Linked DNA regions of Homo sapiens: region 1 is linked to region 2. Evidence: promoter capture Hi-C in human tissues and cell types (Jung and others, 2019). All regions are on one chromosome and are shown on one strand. Each heading gives the region's core, a stretch centred on a gene start or on the middle of the fragment in contact. The rest is flanking DNA. Distances are from core to core; before and after follow the strand shown. Region 1 overlaps KRT75 (keratin 75). Region 2 holds the start of KRT73 (keratin 73).

Region 1 (2,877 bases), core at 87-2,586, 190 kb after region 2:
CTTCCAAATCTAGGTCAGATTCCTTCATTACACTCTCCCAGGACCCTGTTCATTTCCTAAGGGCACTTATCTTAGTGTGGAACTATACATTTGATAATATGCTAATTCAGTTAATGTCTATGTCCCCCAATAAACTGTAAGCTTCAGGGGGAATGAGTGAATGACCAGGAATGAATGAGCCTGCTTGTGGCACCCAGGGTGGGTCTGTGTGCACAGCGAGTGCCTGGGCCAGGCATTTGACTCAGTGACTGGGTTTGCTCTGGTTCTCTCAGTACGAGGAGCTGCAGGTCACCGCAGGCAGACATGGGGATGACCTTCGAAACACCAAACAAGAGATCTCTGAAATGAACCGCATGATCCAGAGGCTGAGAGCTGAGATTGACAGCGTCAAGAAGCAGGTAAAGATTTGGCAGGGCCAAGAGCTCCTCAAATGCTCATTTCTTCTGGGCCTTTCTGCCATCTTTAAGAACTCCTCCCCAAGAAGCACCACACCTCCATGGGCTGTCAGCAGGACTCATGGCTTCCTCCTGTCCTTACAGTGTTCCAGCTTGCAAACGGCCATTGCTGATGCAGAGCAGCGGGGAGAACTGGCTCTCAAGGATGCACGGGCCAAGCTGGTGGACCTTGAGGAGGCCCTGCAGAAGGCCAAGCAGGACATGGCTCGGCTCCTGCGTGAGTACCAGGAGCTGATGAACATCAAGCTGGCCCTGGACGTGGAGATCGCCACCTACCGCAAGCTGCTGGAAGGCGAGGAGTGCAGGTGAGGCAGATGCACCAACTTCATCCTCAAAGCAAGTTGAGCTCACCTCAGCTTCCTGGGCATTCCTAGGGGCTCGGGCTGTTGCAGCCCCTTCTTCTCCTGGAAGAAAATGCAGTTCAGAATTGGGCTATGGCAAAAAAATAATTTTAATTTCCTTCCAGGCTAGTAAATCATTTGAGGTGCAACTACAGTTAGCATCCCCATAGAAACCTAAAACCTGATCAGGTCTAAGTAACTGAATTCTACCAAAGGAGACATTTGGTTACATGGCAGCTCTCGAAATGTGGTCTAAAAGGCCATGGGCTGAGAACAAACAGTCCTAGGATTTGGGCTTACAGATCTAACACTAAGTAGCTACATAACCTTGGGAAAGTCAGTCTCCCTTCTCTGGCCCTCAATTTCTTCAATGATAAAATGAAAAGGTCAGATTACATGATCCGCAAAGCTTCATGGGAGCTTTGTGCTCTGCCAGTTAGGAGCTGTGTAGCCAAGAGCAGATACTTAACCTCTCCACCTCTCAGTGTTCTCATCCAATAAAATGTGAATAACAATAGTTCTAAACTCTCACATTATTAAAAGGGTTAAAATAAGGGAATACACACAAAGCTCTTAGAACAATGCATGGTACACAGCGTGTTCGATAAATGTTAGCTATCATTCAGTTTCATGGCCAAAGACATAGGCTTTGGTGTCAGATGAATCTGTCTTCAAGTCCAGCTTTGCGACTATGGGCAAGTTAGTTAACTTGTCTGAGCTTCCATTTCTCCCTCTATAAAAGTGAGCAAATAATACCTACCTCATGGGGTTGTTGAGAGAACTAAGTGGTGTGATATAAGTAACAGGTAATCAACAGCTGTTACCTCTTGTTAAGTTTCTCAGTATGTGTTTATGAATGAATGCCAGTTCTGTCCTGAAGATGCTAAAGCAAAGTTACTTGGTTGCTAAGATAATAATAAACTGATATTACTATTGTTATTTTTATGACTCAGACGCCTCTCCACACCTATATACAATAAGCTCAGCCCTGGCTCAGTGCATGACAATGGTCCCTTGTTGAGAGACAAATCTTATTATAGGACAGGCCCTTCTTTCCAGTTGATGCCAGTATATGATTACTTTTAATTTCCTTAAGGCATCTAACTAGTTTAAACCAAAAATTGTATTTCTGAGATTATAGATTTTGCTCCTGTGAACCTCAAACTCCACCTTATTTTATTCATTAGATTATTAATATTATCTTTAATACTACTAGTTCTCAAATAATTTCAACCTGCATTACTTCTGCAATAAAAATAATAAAGTATGTTTAAATGCTTTGTCAACAATTACAAAAGTGTCATTGCAAAGGCCCTTAAGCTGCTGGCCACATTGGTAACCTTCCTTCTCCCTGCTCTTCCCAATCAGGTTGAGTGGAGAGGGAGTTTCTCCAGTTAACATTTGTGAGTATGACATACTTCTTGGGCCATTTGGAGTGTGTGTGGTAGAGGGGATGGGGATGTGGTGGGCTTGCCAGAGGGTGAAGATATGACGGGTTAGACGGGATCTCACAGACAGCGTTCATTTGGAGAAGGTTTGAGGTTTTGGGTCCCTTAAAAAGCAAGCCATATTAGGAGTCTTTAATGTCACAGTTCTTTCCTCTTTGAGAGTGAGGGTGTCACAGAAGGGGTGATGAGAGGTTTGATGTCATTGTTCTGAGTGGGTTTAAAAGATCCTGGCCACATCTCCTACCTCCCAGAATTCCCTGCCTTTTTGTTGGGGCTGCAAGCCTAGCACAGAGGTGAGCACTTGATGTAGACGGGATTTATGAAAATTCCTGGTCTGGCTTGGACCTTTGAAGGGAGCCTTCATGCTGTGGACAAGAGCATTGCCAACTAGGCAGCTTCTCTCCTAAACAGTTTGAGAAGAAGCTCCACTGCTTGGCTCAACTCTGCCGAGTATAACTGCAGAAGGATGCCAAGGGTTTTCAAGGCAGTAAGGGCAGCATAAAATATGGCAGTTGGCTACAGTAGCTCTAAAACAGGAGAGGTATTAACAAGCTGGCATGGCCCTGTGCTGGTGAGAGAAGAAGTGGTCATTCGCAGAGCTCAGTGCTGGCATCACAAGGGCAACAGAAATGA
Region 2 (3,196 bases), core at 312-2,811:
AAAAAAAAAAGAAAAAAAGGAATAGAACTTCATGTTAGCTAAAAAAGATTAAAGGACTTCCAAGTGGCATTGCCTTTAGTGAAATTGAAGACATCAAAGAAAATGATTATTCTTAACTAGAAAACAACCATATTGTATAAAACAGAGGGGAGGTTGAATTTGGCAATTGCTTAGTACAACAATTTTAGAGGCATATCATAACCTCTATACAGAAATAGAAAAGAAGGATGGGCCAACTGTTCATTCAAGTACTCCAGCTAGTGAAATACTTGTGTTTTTATGGAGGAAATTCTATACTATGGATATATTTGGGATTTGGGATTTGGGAAACTCTTGGGTCACATACTTTGGCAATGTCAAGGATCCATGAAATTCAAATGTCTTCCCCTACCTCCCCATCTCCAAAATTGTGAGCTAGGTTTGGTCTTCATAATTCGGGACCCAAGAGCCTAGCACAGTACCTGGGAGAGAGTCAGCCCTCAAGAGAAGTCTGTTAAACGAATGGATAAATGAATGAACAAGTAGATGGCTGGCTGGCTGGTTGGACGGATAGATGGACGAATGAATAAGGCGGGCATAGCTCTGAATGTGGAGTCAGAAGACCAGCCAAGGGAGTCCTCAAGGCTGGGGCCTGTGCTTTTTGGGGGCATTTTCATTCTCTGGGATTCACACAAAGAAAGGACTCACTAAATGTTTGCTAAAGGAATGACATCCTCAATTATCTGAACCTTGGTTTCCCCATTTGTGTAATGTGGATCATCACCATTCCCCTCCATGCAGACTAAGTGGATTAAATGAGCTTCTTGTGTGAGGAGCTCTGTTACACTGTAAAGTGCTGCACCAGTGTCAGCCATCGTGAATGGTGCAATGACCATAATTTCAAGGTCAAGAGTCAGGGTAGTGGGATGGTAAAGGGAAAAAGAAGTCAGTGTGTGCAAAGGAAGGTGAGCAGGGCAGCCCGGCTGGCACAGAGGAGCAGGAGAGCTGCCTGGGAGGGCACAGCAGGGGGCTGGCAGCCAGAGGCTGGTCCTGGATTCCCAGTGTGCTCCTCTCCTATGGCCCTGGCCAGCCATCAAACCTGTCTCCAGGAACTCTGGGAAGCCAGGCAGCAGCAGCCTCTTCTTAACCACATAAAAGCAGCTCAGCCAGGGTCCCTGAAGCAGCCCATCTGATGCTGGCATGGTTGTGAGATTTCTAACAGATGACACTGTCAATTAAAGGTCTCCCCTCTGTACCCCTACAATCCCAGGCCCCACCACTCCCTGGGGAACAGCAATTGAGACTGCGACAAACCTCCCACCTAAGATCTTTCTATGGATAATGTGCCCATGCTAATTACACATGTTCATTAGATAAAACTCAAATTACATGAGCAAGACTTGCAAGACTAGCACTTTGGGAGTTTTCAAGTCATTTACCTGGTGTCTGATTTTGCTGGGAGAAAATGATTTCTTGCTTCCAGGCAAACTGAACCCACAAATTAGGCCCATGGCTCCCTCTTGAGTCCTATAAAGTGGGAGCCCAGGATCACAGGCTGGTGAACTGCATCTCAGCTAAGGGTCAGCATCTTATCCCCACTTTCTGGCCTCCCCACCATGAGCCGCCAATTCACCTACAAGTCGGGAGCTGCTGCCAAGGGGGGCTTCAGCGGCTGCTCCGCTGTGCTCTCAGGGGGCAGCTCATCCTCCTACCGAGCAGGGGGCAAAGGGCTCAGTGGAGGCTTCAGCAGTCGGAGCCTTTACAGCCTGGGGGGTGCCCGGAGCATCTCTTTCAATGTGGCCAGTGGCAGTGGGTGGGCAGGAGGCTATGGATTTGGCCGGGGCCGGGCCAGTGGCTTTGCTGGCAGCATGTTTGGCAGTGTGGCCTTGGGGTCCGTGTGTCCGTCGTTGTGCCCGCCCGGGGGTATCCATCAGGTCACCATCAACAAGAGCCTCCTGGCACCCCTGAACGTGGAGCTGGACCCTGAAATCCAGAAAGTGCGTGCCCAGGAGCGGGAGCAGATCAAGGTGCTGAACAACAAGTTCGCCTCCTTCATTGACAAGGTGGGTCTTTCTGGAGAAAGCTGATCTTGGGCTCCCCTTTTAAGGACTCAGGAGGGAGCCACTGCCCTAATTTGTGGTTCAATTTGCCTGAGAGCAAGAAATCATTTTCTCCCAGCAAAATCAGACACCAGGTAAACAACTTGAAAGCTCCCCAGGTGCTGGGCCCATAAGGCTTGCTCATGCCGTAGAGCCCCTTCCTTCCCCCGCCTTCATTGTCCTTGGGGTGCTCCCTGTCTGAAGCAGACGAAGGCAGGACACCTCCCCAGGATGCAGACATAGCCCAGGGAGGAACTGGACAAAGCCTGGACATCAGAGGCAAGGGACCAGGGTTGGAGGGGTGAGAGGAGCCAGCAGCCTAGCCCAGGAAGGTGTCCAGGAAGCAATGAGAGCGGTCTCTGAGTTGAGAAGTAGCAGAGTGACAGCCTGTGAGACTTAGAAGCTAGGCGAAGGAGATGCCCTTGACAGCCTGGGGCATCTAGACTGCCATGCGACCCAGCTGTTCCTCCTGTGTCCCCTGAAAGCTCAGACTCAGTCCGTAACACACACAGCCTATGAGGCAAGGCAGCTGGAGGTCACGGTGCCCTAGAGCAGTGGTTCTCAAAGGTGGCCCTGGAACCAGCAGCAGCAACGTCACCTGGACGCTTGTTAGAATGCACACTCTCAGGCTCCACCCCAGAGCAACTGAATCAGAGACTCTGCAGCAGGGCCCAGCACCCTGCATTTTAACAAGCTCTCCAGGTGATGCTGATGTACACTCAGGTTTGAGAATCACTGAGGAACAAAGTGGTAGGAAGGTATTGGGAAGCAGAGACTTCCTAAGCTTAGAGGAGCAGGGGAAGCTCACCCGGAGCGACAGTGAGGTAGGGTGGTGAGGCATGAGTAGGAGTTTTCAGATGGAGGTGGGGAAAAGGCAATCTAGGGAGACAGCACGTGCAGCATGGTAGAACTTGTCTGGGGAATGGGAGACCTTCGGTTTACGACATCACTGTATGAGTAAAGAAGGAAGCCAGGAGGGCTGGGCACATTATGAAGAGTGTGATAAGGAATATGGACTTGACCCTGAGGGTGATGTGGAACCACCTGAGGGTTTTAAGCAAGGGAATGATATATTTGTAGGTTGCAACTTGAGAATGCTTGTTCTGCTGCTGGGACAA

What was found. Contacts are between HindIII fragments. The study calls those that stand out against the background at their distance.
Region 1: a fragment that was not itself captured here is called in contact with the fragment with the promoter of KRT73 in region 2 in 2 of the 25 tissues and cell types used here (H1 embryonic stem cells and dorsolateral prefrontal cortex).

The regions. Positions count from the first base shown.
Region 1 is chr12:52,426,139-52,429,015 of GRCh38, reverse strand. It overlaps KRT75 (keratin 75), which reads left to right. Exons shown (of 9, transcript NM_004693.3): 6 at 273-398; 7 at 540-760; 8 at 2,165-2,199. Among named protein-coding and RNA genes, the nearest start is that of KRT75, 6.8 kb to the left of the region's middle. The HindIII fragment of the contact is 7,225 bases long and covers 1-2,877 here.
Region 2 is chr12:52,616,924-52,620,119 of GRCh38, reverse strand. It overlaps KRT73 (keratin 73), which reads left to right and starts at 1,561. Exons shown (of 9, transcript NM_175068.3): 1 at 1,561-2,042. The coding sequence starts at 1,596. The HindIII fragment of the contact is 11,365 bases long and covers 1-3,196 here.